2 separate regions of the Homo sapiens genome follow, and region 2 is linked to region 1. Evidence: promoter capture Hi-C in human tissues and cell types (Jung and others, 2019). All regions are on one chromosome and are shown on one strand. The core of a region is centred on a gene start or on the middle of the fragment in contact, and the rest is flanking DNA. Distances in the headings are between cores, read along the strand shown. Region 1 holds the start of PROKR2 (prokineticin receptor 2). Region 2 has its middle 35 kb from the start of LINC00658.

Region 1 (4,709 bases), core at 1,053-3,552:
GAAACCCTCCGTGGCTGCCCAGCTGTCAGGAAGGACAGCATAGGATGGATCAGACTGTCCAGAACTCTCAAGAAGAATGTGCACCTTTGCCCTTTGCCCAGGGGCCAGGGCCTCTTTGTCTGCCCAGTCACATCCTCCAGCCCCCAACACATCAGCTCCCACAGGGGCTTCTGGAACATTTCCAAGGATGCTCCCATGAGCTGGCCAGGCTCCTACAGCTGTCACAACGTTGTGGCACCTGTTGGCCAGGGACAATGAAGCAGGAGGGCCAGGATGCTGCGGGGTCTTCTCTCCAAAGCAGGACACCACTCCTTCTGTACTGACCAAGCCATAGACTTGGAAATCACCAAGTTCACTTTCACATGGACAGACTGAGTCACCCTGGGCCAGTGATTTATGCTCTCTGAGTCCTAATCTTCCTGTAAACCAAATTCCTGCTGCCCAGTCCAGTGCCTGGTGCATAGTGGGGGCTAGACAGACATCTGTTGAGTGCATGACCAGGGCGCTGTAGGTGGAGGAGGTGGTGGTGGGGTGGGGGAGGGGAATTCCCCTGCTGCTCCCCGTTCTGTGGGAACCAGCTCCAGAAAGAAATCCTCTGCCGCCCTTCCCACCCTACTCCAACTTTGGATCTGCTCTCTGACCTCCTTCACTTGGCCCTAGTTCTCCACCCAGAGTCAACCCTGCCTGAAAGGCACCATGTCCTGTCACCAAGGTCTCAAAATAGGGAAAATAGTCTCTGAAGCCCTCAGCCCGCAGGAGATAGGGCACCCCAGGGTACAAGGCTTCACCGAGGGGCTGGAAAAAGAGCCCAGATCCCAACACCTATAGAAAGGGGCCCTGGCTGTCCAGCTGTGAGTGGCCTTCCCCTCGCCTCTCAGCACACCTGGAAACGACTCCACATGTGGGCGCCGCGGGATGCTGGGTAGCAAGGAGATGACCCAGCTGAACAATGCATTTGGTCCACTCCTGCGAGGGGAGGAGAACGCCGAGGGACAGGAACTGCGCGCCAGCAAAAGACACCCTAACCTGGGGTGCGCCCGCCAGCTGCTTTCCCAAGGTGAAAACCTCCAAGAGGCGAGATGCAAATCCCAGTGGCGTCCACACCCGGAGGTGTCTTCTCTCCAGGTCGCCCCTCCGTCTCATGCGACACCCCAATCCCCGCAGCCTCTGCTCAGCGTGGGACCAAGAATGGGGAGTCCTACCCCTCCTCGGCTTTCCAGCCCCCTAACCCAAGACAAGAGGGCGCGCGCCCGGGCTGGGACAGGTCCCAGCCGCATTTTCGTAGATTGCACTCCCCGCCCGGGAGCGACCCGTTCCAGCAGCCCCCTTCCCGCCCCATCAACGCGGCCGCACTGTCGGCGTCTAGAGGCGACATCCTGGCAAAGACAGGAATCAAGTCAGAAATTCAGGCTCTAGAAGCAAAGGCTGCGGTGCCTCCTGGCTGGAAGAAAACGGCGGGTGGGTGGAGGATGCGGTGCGCGGGAATTTCCCCACGGACGCTTGCTGTTTCCTGCTCACCTTTCAGGAAGGTGCCCCTCTACCTGCACCCTCCCCTGCAATTTGGAGCTCGTCCGCGAGCTCAGCTACCCGCTGGCTCCCTCTGCCCGCGCCCGCACACCACAGACTCCGCTTACCGTACCCTACCCGGTCCTAGAGGGCCCAGAGGGGATCTCCTGAAACCAACTCGCCTGCTTGGAGCCAGCCCCGACGCATATCTCGAGAGTGGCGGGAGGCAAAGCAGCCGGAATGCCCGAGAAAAAAGTGGGCGTCAGAGGCCCTTGTCCTAGCGACTCCCCCACCGCACCGACTGAGTCCCGGGACTGCAGGGATCTAAGCCCTTACCTGTCTCGGCGCCTCCTTTCTGTGCGCTCTGCTGCTCCGGAAGCCGGATCGAGAGTCACAGTGTGGTTGGGCGCAGGCGGGCCGCTCGGTTTTCACCTCGAGGACCCGGACTTGCACTTGCAGAGCCGCTGCGTGGGGGATGTCCCTCTTTTTTCCTCGCCCCGGCGGGCTCCTCCGGCGTGTCAGGGTCTCTGGGTTCCAGCTGGAGTTGGCGCTCCGGCCCCACAGCTCTTTCCAGCGTCTCGGACCTGTGCGCCCCGCCCCGCGCTGGACTCCGCCCCGGGGTCCCCGCCTGCCTCCTAGTCCAGGCCAAGGGTGGATGCCCAGCTCCCCCACCCCACCGCGTGCTCTCGGGCTGGTGCGTCCAGGGCGCGGGCACCGTAGCTCCGGCCGCGCTGACGCGAGTCCCCGGCAGCGGGGGCAGCCTCTCGCACGGATTTCAGCGCCTTCGCATCCCGTCTGAATCGGACCACACAGTAGCCGGGTTTCTACCGTGCGCTTGGGAACAGTGAGCACCGCCCTCTGCCGCCAGTCGTGGCACCGCACCCGGGTCGCGCGCGCAGGAGGGGAGAGTCCTGTCTTCCGGAGGTGCCCAGTGCCAGCGTCCGCGCCCACTAGAAGGTGACCCTTTCAAGGAAAGCCCGGCTCCGACGAGTGCGGTGTGGGCCTTTGGAGATGGCGGTGAAGGAGGAGGCCCCCAGGAGGAAGCTGGGGATGGGGACAGTTTGCTCTGCTCAAAGCCCCTGAAGTCCTCACCCAAACTTTGCGATGACCACCACTATCAGATTCCATGGCCGTATAAAGACAATCCCAGGAGTGCCTCAGCCCATCTGTCCGGAGAGTCTGGAGCCCTTCACTTTGCTTCTGACAGGTTCGAAATCCTCCCACGACCTTCCTGGTTAAACACAGGAACTGCCCATTCAAATGACTGGTGCCCAGGAAGCTCTGGGCATACAGGATTGAACCTGTGGCAGGACCCTGAAGGTCTAAAAAGGTGTTCCCCATCGTTAAACCCCAGCCAGCGGATTATTGGCAGGTGGGAACATGGACTCCACTTTGTCAGAGCTTCCCATTGTTTTCAAGAGAATCTGGAATTCGAGAACTTTAAAAATAGTCTTTGGGTTCGTTAAAGCAAAAATCTTGTTTTGGTCAAAGAGAACCTGTCTCAGACTGAACACAGTCCACAAGGCTGCCAATTAAAAATTTTTGGATAAATGAACTTCAAACTCCTTCAGGTTGTGACATTCTGTGATTCTGCTTTTCCCACCTTACCTGGAACCTGACCCCACTCTCCCTACCTCTTAGCATCTCTCCCGCATGATCAAAGGCAAGAGAGCCAGCTGTTTGCTTTCCTCCTGGGGAGGGGCTGCGATTGGGCAGGTGTTCTACATGCTCAGGGCAACTTCCAGATATGGAGGCAAAAAAGCTCTGTTGCTTGAGTGGGGGAGATGATGGGGTGGCCAGTTGTACGCCCTGGACACATTCTTTGCAATAGTGCATACTTACCAACTTCAGCTAGAGGCTTCTTCGCTCATGGACCATGCCTGCCCTATTCAATGGGGGCAAACAGACCCCTGGGACCATCTGCCCGCTGGTGCTTTCATGGAATCCTCTGAGATGAGTTAAGGCATGGTTGCTTCCACACAGATCTGGCGACCCACAGATGTCGCTGTAGTAACTCCAAGTCCTGACCACCCTCAGCAGAGTAGGAGCTTTTTCTGGGGATGGACATGTGGTCCCCAGGGAGACAGTGGGTGCTTAGAAAACAGTGCAACAGAGTGCTACGGGGAGTTGTCTTAGTTTAGGTTTCCCCCAAGGAGACTCCCAGACAAAGACCTGAGTGCAGGTAGTTTATTGGGAGCAGATCCCGGGAAGCACACACAGGGGGAGGGGAAGTGAGGCAGGGAAGGGAGAAGGGCCCATACACGATATGCTAACGAGCAGGGTGCCACTGCGGCTCACTCCAGTTGACCTGCAGACCGTGTAGAACATGCCTCATGGTTGTTCACAGCAGCGCGGGGAGGCTGGACATTCAGCCATCGATTCCTACCCCCTACTGATGGACAGATTCCCTGAGAGCCAGAATTTCCCTCACTTTTGAGTTGTGTCCCGGTGTGGTGCAGAAAGCCCAAGGCTGAAAAGAAGAGAGCTTCAGGCCTTGGATGGGAGGTGTCATGGTGCCTGGAACTGCATCTGCAGGTGAGCAGAGGAGATTCTGGGCAGGCCGTCACTCTCACATCTGCTACAGGAGGGCAGCAGAGGGGACATTGCCTTTGATGAGGCGGGCAGGAGCCATACTTCTGCTGGAGTTCATAGACTGAACTGGGTGTGAACCCAGAGAAACTGGGTGGGCTGAGTGGGATTTTGAGAGGGGCTGGAGACTTTGCATTATATACTTGGAGGCAACTTACATCCCCACTTGGGCTCACAAAGCTGGCAAGAACTGGGGAAATGGAGATGACTTCCCCTTCTAGTCAAAGAGATTTCTCTAATTGCAAGTCCAAAGTCTCTTCTTGTCTCTGAAAGAGTTTTCTGTCTGAAGTCTTTCTGGGTGAGGGAGGCTTAGCTGAACTACATGATAAAGTGCTGAGGGAGGGGAAAAGGGAAAGGGGAGGAAAGAAAATCCATGCAGGCAGGAGTTGCTGCAGAGCCTCAGGGGAGGCATTATCTACAAACAACTGGATGTGAGGAAAATGGATGAGGTAAGGATACTTTGATACAGAGCCAGAAGATTATATGTTTGAATCCACTCAAGAGACACGAATAATAAAAATTTAACAGGTATAATATTTCGACAACATTAAATCTGAATGTTTTTTGTTATTTCCCCCACGAATCCTATTCCATGGCAGCCACTCCACTAGTAT
Region 2 (4,709 bases), core at 1,096-3,595, 94 kb after region 1:
TCTTGGCTACAGAGAACAAATGAATGCAGTGGCATTCTGCCCTGAGAGGTCAGCCCCCGTCGTCTTAGTTAGCGTGAGTCCCATTCCCAAGTCCCATCACCTCTGGGACAATGAGAAGATCAAATTTCTGAGCTGACAGCAAGGAAATGGCCCCTCATGGAAAGCTGTCTGAGAGGCCAACAGACTTTTCCCAGACCAATACCATAGTCATAATCATTCTTAGTGAACTCAGACCCTGTAGTGGAGCCAACCAGGCAGATAACAGGGATTATAGGGAATTCCCGGGAAAGAGGGGTCCAGACAAAGACATAGCCAAGAAATGACAATGAAAATCCATATGGACTGGGATGTCACTGAGTGGGCAGGTGTCTCAGTGGTTGAGGTCAGCATGGTAGCCTTTGAGGGTGTCTAAGTGGGAAAATAAACCCAAAGTGTTTTTCCATTCTCTCACTCAACAACAATCAACACAGAAGACTTCTGTGACCAAATGTGTGGATTCTTTCCCCATTCAGTAAGCAACCAATTCTGCAGTAGACACTGGCTGAATTTCCTCTGATTCAATTCTGACACTATCTACCTGGAAATAGCATCACATCCCACAGGTTGAGGGCTCAGTTCTACAAAACTGCCTTCCACTTCCAATGCCAACAGCAAGCCCCAGGCTGTTTTTACCTGTGCCTGTGACTGACTGGCTATAAATCATGGTTCTCACCACCCCTACCCTCTCCTTGGCTTCAATTCATTTGCTAGAGCAGCTCACGGAACTCAGGGAAATACCAGATTTTTAAGATACAGATGAAGAGATGCATAGGGAGGGTGATAGGAGAGGTGCAGGGCTTCCATGCCCTCCAGATAGAGCTTGTAGGACCCCACCAGGAACTTCCATATGTTCAGCTATCTGGAAGCTCCTGAAACCCCATCCTTTAGGGTTTTAATGGAAGCTTCATTACATAGGCATGATTGATTAAACCATTGGCCATTGGTGATCAACTTAACCTTCAGTTCCTCTTCCCTCCCCAGAGGTTTGGGATTCCCATACAGCTGAAAATTCAAGCTCTCTAACCCTGCTTTGGTTTCCCAGTGACCAGTGACCAACCCCACCCTGAATCTATGTTAGGGGCTGCCAGCCACCAGTCAATCATTAGCATACAAAAACCATCACTTTGGGGAGATTCGAAGGATTTTAGGAGTTGTATGCCAGAAAAGGAGGTTGAAGACCAAATATGTGTTTTACAATATCACGCTGTGTCAGCGTGGAACTGAGCATTAAAAGATGAAGGAGCTTGAGTTTTTAATGGGGCAGGACCAAATAAGGAAAAGTAGGCACATTTATTTTGAAGGGATTAACCAATCTTATTCTGTGTTTTAGAAACAGTCTAATGCAAGAAACCAAAACGCAACTGAGCTCATTTAAATAAAGAAATGTCAGGCTGGGCGCCATGGGGCTCATGCCTGTAATCCTAGCACTTTGGGAGGCCGAGGTGGGTGGATCACCCAAGGTCAGGAGTTTGAGACTAGCCTGGCCAACATGGTGAAACCCCATCTCTACTACAAAGTACAAAATTAGCCGGGCGTGGTAATGTGCACCTGTAATCCCAGCTACTCAGGAGGCTGAGGCAGGAGAATCTCTTGATCCTGGGAGGCAGAGGTTGCAGTGACACTGAAAGAGGAAGGAGGTTGCATAAACACATCAAAGCCATTTCTTTATAAGTGATTTGAGGTCAGTGATTTTTGCTAATACTTGTGGGAGCATAATGAAGCAAAAGCATGATTAACTTGCTGATATTCAATGACTCTTCACTGAAGCTCAAGTTTATATGCATTTATGAAAGAGTCATGAACACTTTTCCTTATTTTATTTTATTTTTATTTTTGCAGACCTCTGGAGAGCAGATTAGGATATCAAAGTGTAACAGAAAGCAGAAAAAAGTTTAACTGAAAGATGAAAAACTTTAGATGCATTAGTGCTATGGCAAACAGCCAGATCACTCCAATTATGTCCCTAATTGGGTCCATAAATAATTTATAACCCACCATTTGTGTCTGGGGCAAAGGATTTCTAACAGTAAATGCTTAAGTAGTGGTTAGAGGGACCTAATGATTTCCAATTCTGAACTCATCAGAACTCCTCTAGGCTGTGATTCCAACAGCCCTTCTTGAAGTAATTTGGTGGGGATTACTCAAGTATGGGGAGAAATTGTCTTCAGTGTCTAGGTGAAACAGACTGTCAGAGAAGTAATGAGCTCACCTCCCTTTGCTGCTAACCTTGCCACTGGCTTTCATTTAAGGTCAAGAGCCAAAGCCATGAAAATCAGAAATAAAAGGGGGAGCAAAGCTTCCAGAGGCCCTATGATTAGTAGTAGGATTTCTCTCATTTCTTCATGAGAAGCTGGAGGTAATTTCTACTGCCTAAGAGTCTGCACTAATTGTTTTAGGTATTTGTATGTTGCCTGTTAATTTTCACAGCTTCTCCACATCTTGTTTTTCTTTTAATGTTTTAGTTGAAGTATAATAACATATATACAGTACAGTGGATGAAGTGCACACATCTTAAGTACAGAGCTCAATGAGTGTTTTGCAGATGGGTTTTTTTCACGTAGCTAACACCCAGACTGAGATGTAAAACATTCCATATCCCCCAAAAGGTGCTTCTGTTCCTTCCCAGGGTGTGTGTCTCTTGGAGGAGAAACCCGGAGGATGAAGCAAAGCCCTTGAGGCTTGGCTACTTTAGGATTCATGTGCTGTCTGCTGCAAGAAGACATTGAACAAGTGAGAGCAACATCTCAGCATTTCTGAGCAGACCATTTAAAAACTCAAATGCAGCAGAGGGTGCTTGCGAGTGAGATCTGTGTGGGCCTGCAATAGGAGAAGGTCTTGTTCACTTCCTGCCAAAAGCAGTGAAGGTTTACAGGGCCCCTTCTTCTGTGTCCCCATCCAGGGAAGCCACAGCAGCTCTATCCGTGAGCTCCTTCAAAGGTTCTACAATCCCTGGAAGGTACTTGCATGACACAGGACAAGCAACAGACTGAAAGTTTGGTTTGGCCAAGGGACACCTGGAGGTCATCTGCTATTGGTCACTTCTGAAGAAGAATGAGGCTGAGGCTCCCTCAGAGGGCCTAATTTGTCAAGGCCGGTACCAGCAATGAACATGCCTGGCCGGGGTGGAAGCCCCAGTTTTCCTTTTACACATAGCTTTTAACCCCCAGGGGAGGGATAGCTGGTAGCTCATACTTGCTGTACATTTATTAAGTGCTGGGTACTACGATGAACACTTCACATCAATAGTCTCATTAATCTGTAACTTGCATTGACCAATTTCTCCATTTTAGAAATAATGAAACAGAGGGAAAGACACAGTTAGTAAAAGACGGCCTCAGACTCCAGACCCTGGCAATCCTGTTCCAGGGCCTCTGAGCTTCCCCACACTGCCCCCCACTCCCACTTCCCAGACAGAGCTTCTGGGGATCCCATGTACACTCAGCACCCGACACTCGCAGTGGCACTGGCCTCTGGGCTGGGAAAAGAAACACAATTCACTCGACTTATGATTTAATTAAATTTCTGAACCATGGCAGCAGATCTATACTTCATAAATTAAACCCTCATTTCCTAGAGGCAAAAAGTTATGAATTGGTGTTCTGTTCCTGGAAATTCATTTTATTTCGTAAAAACCTAAAAGTTGATCATGAAAATAAAACAAGATATACAACACGCACACATATACACACAGAGATTTATTAAGTAGAAAAAAACAAGTAATATGAAAACCAAATGTTATAAATGTTAAATTGGGTGGACTTTTCTGCAAGGGCTGGATGACTAGAGTGTCTTAAAACATGAGTTAAATGAGATTTAGATTGAAAATGCCTTCCACATTTTTGAGTAAAATTTCTAAGGAACAAAAATAGGCAATTTTCATTGTACCAAGGACTTTTGAAGTAAGGTGAAAATCGGGGGTACTGTTCTAAAAAATGTTCATGGCATGAAGGCACCTGAATCTCTGGGTAGTGTACTACTGCTTTGATCATTTCTTCTGCTCTGTTAAAAGTTGCCAAATGACTGTAAGTATGAGTTTGGTCATTACAGTGGGGGTCTTATGATGAGAAAGACTGTCATGATGGAGGGGATAGTTCCTGTGGTGGAAAGTCAGGGATTTGCCTGACTCTTAGCTCCATGGACACACTCACAAAGCCTCTATGGGCAGCCCCTCTGTCTCCATGCCCTACAGGGCCTCCACCTGGCCACCTCGTTGGGGGGGTGGGCATGGCACGGGGAAGGCTCTCAGGCAATAGGGCTAGAGGTGAGATAGGAATATACACAGGGTTGACGGCAGAATAATGAAAGGAAATTGAAGGAGTAATTCCCAACCAATGGCTATCTCATTTTTTATGGATTACCTGTGATGGTTAATTTTACGTGTCAACTCGACTGGGTCATGGGATGCCCAGATATTTAGCCAAACATTATTCTTGGTGTTTCTCTGAGGGTATTTTAGGATGAACTTCACTAAATTGATAGACTGAGTAAAGCAGATTGCCCTCTGATATGGTTTGGCTGTGTCCCCACCCAAAATCTCATCTTGAATTGTAATCCCCATAATCCCCATATGTCAAGGGACAGACTAGGTGGAGATAATGGAATAATGGGGGCGGTTTCCCCCATGCTGTTCTCATGATAGTGAGTTCTCACGAGATCTGATGGTTTTATAA

The links. The method cuts DNA at HindIII sites, captures the fragments that hold promoters and counts their contacts. A contact is called where the count stands out against the background at its distance.
Region 2: a fragment that was not itself captured here is called in contact with the fragment with the promoter of PROKR2 in region 1 in 4 of the 25 tissues and cell types used here (H1 embryonic stem cells, IMR-90 fibroblasts, aorta and 1 more).

The regions. Positions count from the first base shown.
Region 1 is chr20:5,314,652-5,319,360 of GRCh38, forward strand. It overlaps PROKR2 (prokineticin receptor 2), which reads right to left and starts at 2,303. Exons shown (of 3, transcript NM_144773.4): 1 at 1,843-2,303. The HindIII fragment of the contact is 13,355 bases long and covers 1-4,709 here.
Region 2 is chr20:5,408,652-5,413,360 of GRCh38, forward strand. No RefSeq gene overlaps it. Among named protein-coding and RNA genes, the nearest start is that of LINC00658, 35 kb to the right of the region's middle. The HindIII fragment of the contact is 4,719 bases long and covers 1-4,705 here.